Regions from separate parts of the Homo sapiens genome. Here all the other regions are linked to region 1. Evidence: promoter capture Hi-C in human tissues and cell types (Jung and others, 2019). All regions are on one chromosome and are shown on one strand. The core of a region is centred on a gene start or on the middle of the fragment in contact, and the rest is flanking DNA. Distances in the headings are between cores, read along the strand shown. Region 1 holds the start of GPD2 (glycerol-3-phosphate dehydrogenase 2). Region 2 has its middle 230 kb from the start of LINC01958. Region 3 has its middle 240 kb from the start of LINC01876.

Region 1 (3,033 bases), core at 233-2,732:
ACTAAAGGGGGTGGTAACACTCACTAACAATTGGTAACACTGTGGCCCTTTTGTCAATTCCTGAACCAAGCCATTGCATCTTTGAATGAATCACAAGGGAGAAAGAAGGAAGCAGAGCTCTAATGCTGTTTAGAATTTCTTTATAAAATAAAGTGACTCTATAAGCTATGAGAATGGACAGTTGCAATGAATCCATTGTTGGTTCTCAAACCCAAAACCCCATATTTACCCATTTATTCATTAAAATATTGCTGTATTATTTCACGAGTTGATTTGTAAAAGTCAAGGGAGTGTTGTAATTTGACATAACGCCCCTGTGAGAAACAGAGGGGGGTTTCAACATCCACATCACAAGGTTCCCCAGACTGCACACGGTCTCCATTGGGCAATGGCATCCAGATGTCATGTGGTAGCCAGCAAGAACTGTAGGACTGGGACTAGAGTGGTCAGTAGCTACGAAGAAGTGCCTGGGCCCAGTGTGACAGCTGCCAGCACCGTCCACACGCCAAAAAGAAACTTCACATCTCTTTAAACTTGGAACACATGCAAAATACTAACAGTTTTGTTTTAGCAATAAAGACTCCCTGTCACTTACTAACTTCCTTCCCTCACCTATTTATACAAGTATAAGTTGACTAGCTGCTATTTCTATAGCTGCCTCCTATGATATTTATAATGTGTTGTGTGTGATTTGGGTTGCCCATGTCACTAACACTTTGCAAGAATTTGTGTTTGTAAATTACTCTGGAACTCTTCTGGGAGTGAATATTCCACTGCACAAGGTGGAAGCCAGACTAGAGACCATCTGCTAAGAGCAGCACTTCATTCACCCAGCTACACCTTCCTGCCAAAGCACTCTTTGCAAATCTATTTTTGCTGGTAGAAGTTACTACATAGGGAGTGGAGGCTGTTTTAAGTTATCAGTGTGCACCTTCCATTTCCTCCTAGGACGGTCACACGCCAGCAGCTGAGTTTCTCAAAGAAGCCTCAGCCCTCCTCCAGACTCGTTCTCACTCTTGCTTCGGAAGGGAGCAACAATCCTTATCAGACTAGCCGCATCTACAAGCTAAAAGTTTGCATGAACTTTCAATGGGGTACCAACCCTCGCCCCAAAAGTCCTGCCACTTTACTATTTTACAAATGCCGCCTCCAAAACATAAACAACGAAACCCTAGAGAAGAGCGAATCCATCTTCTGCTGGTGGGAAGAAATTCTAAATCTTTCCCGTTTCCCGCCACCACCTACCGCCAAGACTGGAGTCCCAGAACACTCGCCCGGGTCAGAAAGGGACCACTCCCCCCCTAGAATACTAGAGGCGGGGGAAGGGGTCTCCCAGGAAGCACACACCTGAGATAGATCCTCACGCGCGAGGGGCCAGCGGGCAGGAGCACCCAGTTCCTCCAGCCAGGGTGGAGTCGGCCTCCCCCCAGAATCAGAGCCTCGGCCCGGGTGCTCCCAGCGAGGCGCGCGGGGCTGTCACTCGAGGCGGGCTGGGCGGGTGTAACTCGAGCGCCGGGCGGGCCGCGCCCCCGCCTTCCCTCTTCCCGACTTCCTCCTCCCGCTCCCGCGCCTGCTCCCTCCCGGAGGCCTGACCAGGGCGGCGAGGCCGCCACCTCCTGCCCGGATACCTCGGGCCCAGGCTCCTCCGGCCCAGCGGGGAAACGCGGAAGTGGGGGCGGGAACCGGGGCCGGGGTTGGCGGGGGTGTGGGAGGGAAAAGCCAACAGCGGGCGGCGAGCGAGGTGGTCTCCGTGGCCCAATGAACGTGACTAGACGGGGACGCGGGTCCTGCCGCCGGGTGGGGTCGCGCAGCGCCACACGCAAGGGCCCTCGCCCCTGGCTGCAGTTCCTGCTTTGTGCCTCGGCGATGCCGGACTCCAGACCTCCGCCCCGCCTTGCCAGCGGGCTGGCGGACTGGAAAGCCTGAGCTAGGCCAGGCTGGGGAAGACGGTGGCGGTGTCCGATTTCCTGTGCCCTCGCCCATGCGGGCCGCCCTGGCCATCTGCCTGCGGGAGAGGAGACACTCGTCCGCCGGCACGCTGGCGGGGCTGGCTTACCTGACGACTTCTCGTTGTCCGCCCTGGGATCTGGCTTCTCCTACTCTGTACCTCCCGGCCGGCAGGCTTCCCTAGGCCTACAGACGTGTCCAGGAGGCGGGCGACCCTGCGACCCCGCCGTCAGAGCCCAGAACCCTCGCCCGGCTCCCCCGGCGGGCTCTGGAGGCGCGCCAGGCCTCCTGGCTCCCCGCCTGAATGTCAGCGCAGGGACCCGCAGGGAAGACCAAGCCCAAGCTCCAGGGGGTGGAATGCTGAGCACAGGTTCCCCAGACCCAGCCTCATACAGGTGGGGGGAGGCGGAGAGCCCCGGCAGCTGAACAGCAGGCTTCCCACTTGCAACCCCCCGCCACCCAAAAAAAAAAAACGACCCTGCCCACTGAGCATGCCCAGCTTACTTGTTGGAACTCCTAGGGCTAGACAAGCCCAAGGGGACCTAAGGAAGGCAAAGTTGGGGCTCAAATGGACCCCACTTCTTTAACAGCTTTGCTCCGAAGACCTCTGGGTGCTGTACTAATAACCTTTCTATCGTGGTATTGGAAAATATCCAGGAGATGGACGGAAATGCCTTTCCAAAAGAAGGAAGAAAATTAGTGTGAACCAAAAAGCAGTGGTATTTTTTTAAATAAAGTATTAAGTCACTCATTTAATGTCCTTAAATACCGCAGAATTCCTGTAGTTGACCCAGAGGAATGCATATATTTATTAAATCCCAAACTCAGTAACTTCAGGGAACCATCCATAGTCCACAGAGGAGCAATGATTCTCACCCTTGGACACATTAAAATTGGGGGGAGGGGGCAGGGAGGGGTGGAATGCCAGATTTCCATCCCCAAGTCCAATGAGTCAGTCTGGACGTGGGATCTGCAAGTCCTTGTATTTTAAAACTGGCTCTAAAAGTGTAGTCACTGGAGCCCGCAGCATCAGCATCACCTGAGAACTTGACAGAAACTGTACTCCAGTGACCTGATTCATAGACT
Region 2 (3,033 bases), core at 258-2,757, 460 kb before region 1:
TCTATCTCTAGTACCTAGAACAGTTTGTGCCTGAACTATCATTAGTTCACAGGACATATTTGTTGAATAAATAAATACAATAGCTATATATTTTTTTAAATGCATAGTTTTCAAAAGGACTTAAAGATGTTGAAAAGCTTACTGAAATGTTTTTAAAAACCAGAAGTGTGTATACAGCATGATTACAATTGTGTAAAAAGAAATTTAAAAAGCAACCAACCAAAATCCCATACATGGAAATATTAAAGATGAAGAAGAATGTAAGATAAAACACACAAAAATAAAACTCTCAGAAATTGAATTTGTATGATGGAACTATGGGTGAATTTTTTCTTCCTTTTAATTTTCCATATTTCCTAAATTTATAAAGAAACATTACTTTAGCATTTAAAAAAATGCGAAGAAAAAAACAACTAAACATGGTTTTTTTTAGCTGCTCTTTAGTATTTTTTTAACTCAGTTTCTCTGTGTTGCAATCTGGACTAAATCCTTGGTGCTATCTCTTGAATCATGAATTCTCTCTTCATCTCTGTCTAAATGTTACTTTTTTCTCTTGAGATTTGTAAATTCTCCTTAAAAAGAAAACTTCAGCATTTCTAATTTATTCTTTCATGTCTACCTAATATTGTTTTTGAATTTTTTAAAAGAATTGTTTTAATTTATGATTGCTTTTTGTTTCACAGTTTCTTAGGGGTTATTTTAGTAGATACAATTCAGTATTTTATCTTTTTGAGATTCTCAATGTGTTTGTGAAGTCTTTTTTTGGTAACGTTATAATTTTCATTTTTATCTACATTGAATTCATCTCCCAGCAATTGATTTTTATTTTGTCAGCTGTCTTTTGAGCATTCATTTTTAATAATCATTTTCAGACATTTCTTGGTTGGGAGTTTACTACAATCTCTCTGTCTCTGCCTTTCCTTGTCTTTCTCTCCCCACCATTTTTCGTGTGTGAAGTTTTAAGTTGACTACACATCACTTTCTGCCTGGGGCCTTCAGGCCAGATAATGAGCTGTCCTGGAAGAATGTTACCCCTGGGCTGCAGGGTAATTGTGAATATTTTCAATTCCAGATACTCGAGTATCTGGGTAGCTTGGCCCAGACTTTGGATGCGACGTAGAGTCCTTCCTTTTCTTAGAAATGCAGCTCAATTCATATAGGCATTGGTCCCAGTCAGTGACCTGTTACAGCTTTATACAGCTTCCTTTCTGGGTTGAAGATGCCTTATTTTACTCCCCAATTTCAAGCATGTCCTTTTCTCTAGTCCTTTTACCCTTGAACATTCCTCAACTGACAGATGTGGTACTCAGACAGCCACAGCCTTTGCCCCACTTGCTGTTTTTTATTTCTCTTCTGGTTCAGTTTCACAATGAGGCTTTCTTTGCTTTTGAGTATGGTTATATCCTTCTAATTTAATCTTTTTCTGTACATAATTAATCAGAGAAGACTTCCAGAGAAAGAATCAGTTGTATGGAGAGAGAAACAGCATGTTGTTGAGTTAGTAGAAAATGAGTTAAGTTAATAAATTTAGAAAAGACAGTACATATTAATAGGACCTAATGGATAGCCAGAGAACAGAAGGCAGCAGAACTAAGAGGATACTTTCCCTTCCTCTGACATAAAAAGTGAGGAGAACTAAGATCTCAGTAGGAGCTGATCAAGTTGAGATAAGGATTCAGAATTTCCCATTCAGTATTCATAGATGTCTTGACAAAATGATTCTCATTTTTAAAATAATTATAGCGAGGAAATTGCATGAAAATAAAAGTATATAGCAATTTAGGTGGAGAAACTTATTATCTAGCAAGAGCATGAGAGGAACAAGGGGGAGAATGTGGCTTATTAATAAGATCTTATACTAATCCTGCATGTTTTAAGGGTACATGTATTGCCTCTTGTGTCTCTCAGTAACTTACCTGAGTCATGTAGACCACTGGTCTTCAACTCTGACTTCACAATAAAATCACCTAGTGACATTTCAAAAAATATTGGTGCCCAGAATCTCATTCCCAAAGATTCTGATTTAATTGTTTTACTGTAGGGCCTGGCTCATGTTATTTTTTAAAGTACCTCGGATGCTTCTAATGTGCAACTAGGGCTGAAATACTACACAGAAATACTGAATGAATAAACATCATGTAGTTGCAAATCTATATATTTTTTCTTTTCTCTAGTATATTTTCGCCACAAGGCCTGAAAGTGACCTTGGACAGAGAAATGGCAGAAATCCATTCTCTTGATGAGCTGTGTAAATTGGCTTGTGAATTAGTTCCCTATTGCTGCTGTAACAAAGTATCACAAGCTTAGCATTTTGAAACAACAGACATCTTTTTTGGGGAGGTACATTATCCTGCCTGCCACAGTTTGGTATAGAAGTGATTGTAGCAACTTCATGATTAGATCACTCTTACCATTGTGAAGTTCATGGAGATCAGACTTGTTCAGAGGGGCTTGAGGGAAAAGATCATGGAACCAATATTGTCAAGAATTGCTATATTGCTTGAATACAAGAGAGTATTTTGAAACATGACCTTATATTGCCTTGGTTTGAAATCTGAGATGGTCATTTTCAATAATATCACTTTGTTCCTGACTTTGTTAAATATGTTAGCTCTTCTACCTCTTCCTCTACCTTCTGCCACCTTTCATATATCCTACCTTCTGTCTGTTACATTTGAATTTTTACCTCATTATTTTTGTTAACATATACATTTTTTCTACAAGTAAAAGCAGTCTTCCTAACTCTGGCCGTGAATTTATAAGTTGAAAAACAATATAAAGAATTACATTATTATGGCTATGTAAAAATTTTTCACTGCTGAGCCAATTAGTGGGCTGGGAATATAATTTTTTTTCTCTCTTGGCCCAATGTCATGACTCTGGATGACTCAATAAAAAATGTTCCTAGATTGGGCACAGTGGCTCATGCCTGTAATCCCAGCACTTTGGGAGGCCAAGGAGCAGAAATCACTTGAGGCCAGGAATTCAACACTAGCCTGGGCAACACAGCAAGACCTTGTCTCTAAAACAATT
Region 3 (3,033 bases), core at 255-2,754, 420 kb after region 1:
TATGAAGCATGCAGTCACTGGGTTTGACATTACTTCATTTTGTTTTTCATACTGTGCATACAAAAATTTAGTTATAAGTCATCTCTTCCTTCTACTCAATCTCCTCTTTCTTCCAGTCAGACCTGAGTATTTTTCACTTAAGATATTTAATTTGAATACTTAACTAAGTTAACATACTTCTTTCTCCTTAGGGAAAACAAAAAGTGGGGAATAAGGTCAAGAGAGCTGTTCAACATTGTGACCATGGTCACGTGGACTCCAAATGTGCTAATTTCTGGTTGAAGTTCTTTTTAAATATAAGCCATCTTTCAGATTACCAGCCATATGAGAACAATTTTGTACCATGAAAATACTAAAAAATGATGTAATTTTTTTTGGGCCGCTAGCTTTTGGGTGATTCTATATCTATAGGGCAAGATGAAAAATAGTGGTAAAGAATATTGATATTTTTAATCTGTATAAATGAGCTAGCTACACCCTTGATTTGGCAGTACATTTTTTTTTTCTCTGAGAGTTGGGTAATTGTCACTTTTGCAGCCATTTAAAAAGCCATCAGTGACAGTAGGCTAAGAAACAGGAAGAATGGAGGTTATTGTTCATCATTAGAGCTGGGCTTTTGTGTGGCCTTGAGGAATCACAGGTCGTTGAGGTTTCATTTTGGACAGGTTCCAGATAATGCAAAAGTGAGCTGCTTTATTTCAGAAATCCAATTCAAAGTTCACAAAACTATAATAGTACATACAGGTTGCATTCCATGTCGTCTCTCACTCTTTCTAGTTACATTTGTTTTGTACCAGATTACCATTTCCCAGAAGGTGTCAATCTTACTTTATATCATAGTCTTTGAATAATTAAGAGAGTTCAGTCTTAATGTGTAACATTCAAGTGAATGAAGAATTCAAAGAATGCTGAAAAACAGTTATCAAATTAATACTCTGAAAGTTTACATATGCAAAGGATGCAAAATATAACATTGAGAGACATAGATTCATTTTTGTGATACTGGTTTTTTGAAAAGTTCTGAATTTCTCTTTTTCTATCTGCTTTGTCACAAAAATAGCTATAGGGGTAAGGCAACTGACATAAAACACACTCAATATTACGGGATGTAAAAGAAGGAAGATATTATAAAGATATTATAGTGTGTATACAGAGGAAAAATGCCATGGAGGAAGTGGAATTTCAAATGGATCTTAAAGTGGAGATTGTGATTTCTTTAGGTGGAGTGGATCTCAGTAATGCTTTCAGTAAACTAAGCTGACCACAGTGTGTAGGATGGATAAATACTAGTGGGGAAGGGCAAGACATGACCGGTGATCCTGGCAATCAAGGTAGGGAGTAAAAAAGGTTCAAACCGGGTGGTGGCAATAAGAATGGGAAGAGGAACGTGCAATGCAAAAAGCATTGAGATTTGGGAACTGGTTATAAAATTGAGGGTAAAAAAGGATAAAAAATATGAATCTGACTTTTCGAATTAAGAAACTGGAAAACAGTCTAGATATAAAATAACACACAAATGTTGAGTGTGTTATTGCAACTAGGGAATTGTAATCAGGAACGAAGAGACAGATCTAGGAGTAAATTTCCTTAAGTGTGATAATTGAGCCAACAGGGATGATTGTGTTTTTTGAATAGAAGAGTGCAGAAAGAGAAGAGAAGAGTTTTAAGGACAAAACTTTAGGAGATGGCTACATTTCCAAGAAGGCAGGATAAACAGAGGTCATCCCCAGGTAACTTTACTTAGGTCAGAGAATCAAAGAGAAGGAATTTTCAAGAAAGTTTAAAGTAGTCCAATGTTAGGAGATGATAAAGAGGATAAAGACAGAGGAAGAAAACTAAGGTTGAGTTTTCTTCTTTAACTCCATTTATTCATATATAGGTTGACTTTCTTTATAACATAATAAGCTTTTAGAAAGATTGACATTGTTTGCCAATTTTAAATTATTTCCTTTATGATTTCTATATGGCAGAAAAGATGGCTGTTAAGAACCGATGACCTAAAACACTTTCCTTCCTGTAGTTTCCTATCTTCTTCCTTAATCAATTCTCTCTCTCTCTGTCTCTCTCCCCCTCTCAAACTTAGACTGCAAGTTGAGTGAAGGTGCAGCAAACAATAAATACATTTTCGGTTAGAAGATAAACAACCTAGTCAGTATTAGAATTCTCTGAGGCCATGTCTTTCTCCTCTCAGAAAACATTCACTTCGTGTTTATTAAAAAATAAAATGGCATTATTGGAAGGAAAAAAAAAAATATGTGTGCCCTCAAGAGTGAACCCTCTGCCTAGTAGGAGAAAACAGTAAAAAGGTGGTCCTATCATTTTTCATTTTTGCTGCAGAAAACACAAATGCCTTTTGATGCCAAAATAAAAGAGGGCTGGAATTTGAATAGAATACATTTCTCCAGCCTAGAGATATTCCACCATACAAGGATGCCAATACTAAGACACGTTGTCTTTTATAAAACTTCAGGATCTTAACATTCTTATTAAGAGGGTGAGAGAGGAAAAAGAAAACACTCTTAGGGAAAAAGTTAGGTAGACAAATTGTGCCAGGAACTCTGATAGAATCCTATCTTGTTTCTCTTCACTGTCTTAAACAACAACAAACTTAGAAATTCTGGATTCACTGACAAGAGGAAAGTAAGGTTATTAGTTATGAGCATCTTTATTTCCTAAATATGTATCACAGAAAAACTAATACCTCCTAAAGGTCAACAAGTCATTCTCAGGAAGAAGACAATATTTTGAAGAGTTTTTATGTTATATTAACCTTTAGCCTTTGAGATGAAATTGAGAATAAATTTCTGAAGTTAAAAAAAAAGAGAGACTAGGGTGTGGGTGAAACTGCCATTGCAAAATTATAACTGAGACAGTGAAATGTATCTGACCTAACCAACTAACTCCATCTTACTTCTAACCTCCAAGCTGTCCTTGTTCATTCCTGAGTGTAGGCTGAACTAACTTTGGGAGAAACTTAGTTTATAGTTTAAAACAAAGATGATAGCAGCCCTTTCCCAAAACAAACCTCCCTGC

Evidence for each region. Contacts are between HindIII fragments. The study calls those that stand out against the background at their distance.
Region 2: a contact is called between a fragment that was not itself captured here and the fragment with the promoter of GPD2 in region 1, in 1 of the 25 tissues and cell types used here (lymphoblastoid cells).
Region 3: a contact is called between a fragment that was not itself captured here and the fragment with the promoter of GPD2 in region 1, in 1 of the 25 tissues and cell types used here (mesendoderm cells).

What each region holds. Positions count from the first base shown.
Region 1 is chr2:156,434,828-156,437,860 of GRCh38, reverse strand. It overlaps GPD2 (glycerol-3-phosphate dehydrogenase 2), which reads right to left and starts at 1,482. Exons shown (of 17, transcript NM_000408.5): 1 at 1,348-1,482. RefSeq lists silencers at 1,361-1,770, 2,211-2,380 and an enhancer at 1,921-1,970. The HindIII fragment of the contact is 7,799 bases long and covers 1-3,033 here.
Region 2 is chr2:156,899,847-156,902,879 of GRCh38, reverse strand. No RefSeq gene overlaps it. Among named protein-coding and RNA genes, the nearest start is that of LINC01958, 230 kb to the right of the region's middle. The HindIII fragment of the contact is 4,197 bases long and covers 1-3,033 here.
Region 3 is chr2:156,011,971-156,015,003 of GRCh38, reverse strand. No RefSeq gene overlaps it. Among named protein-coding and RNA genes, the nearest start is that of LINC01876, 240 kb to the left of the region's middle. The HindIII fragment of the contact is 3,136 bases long and covers 1-3,033 here.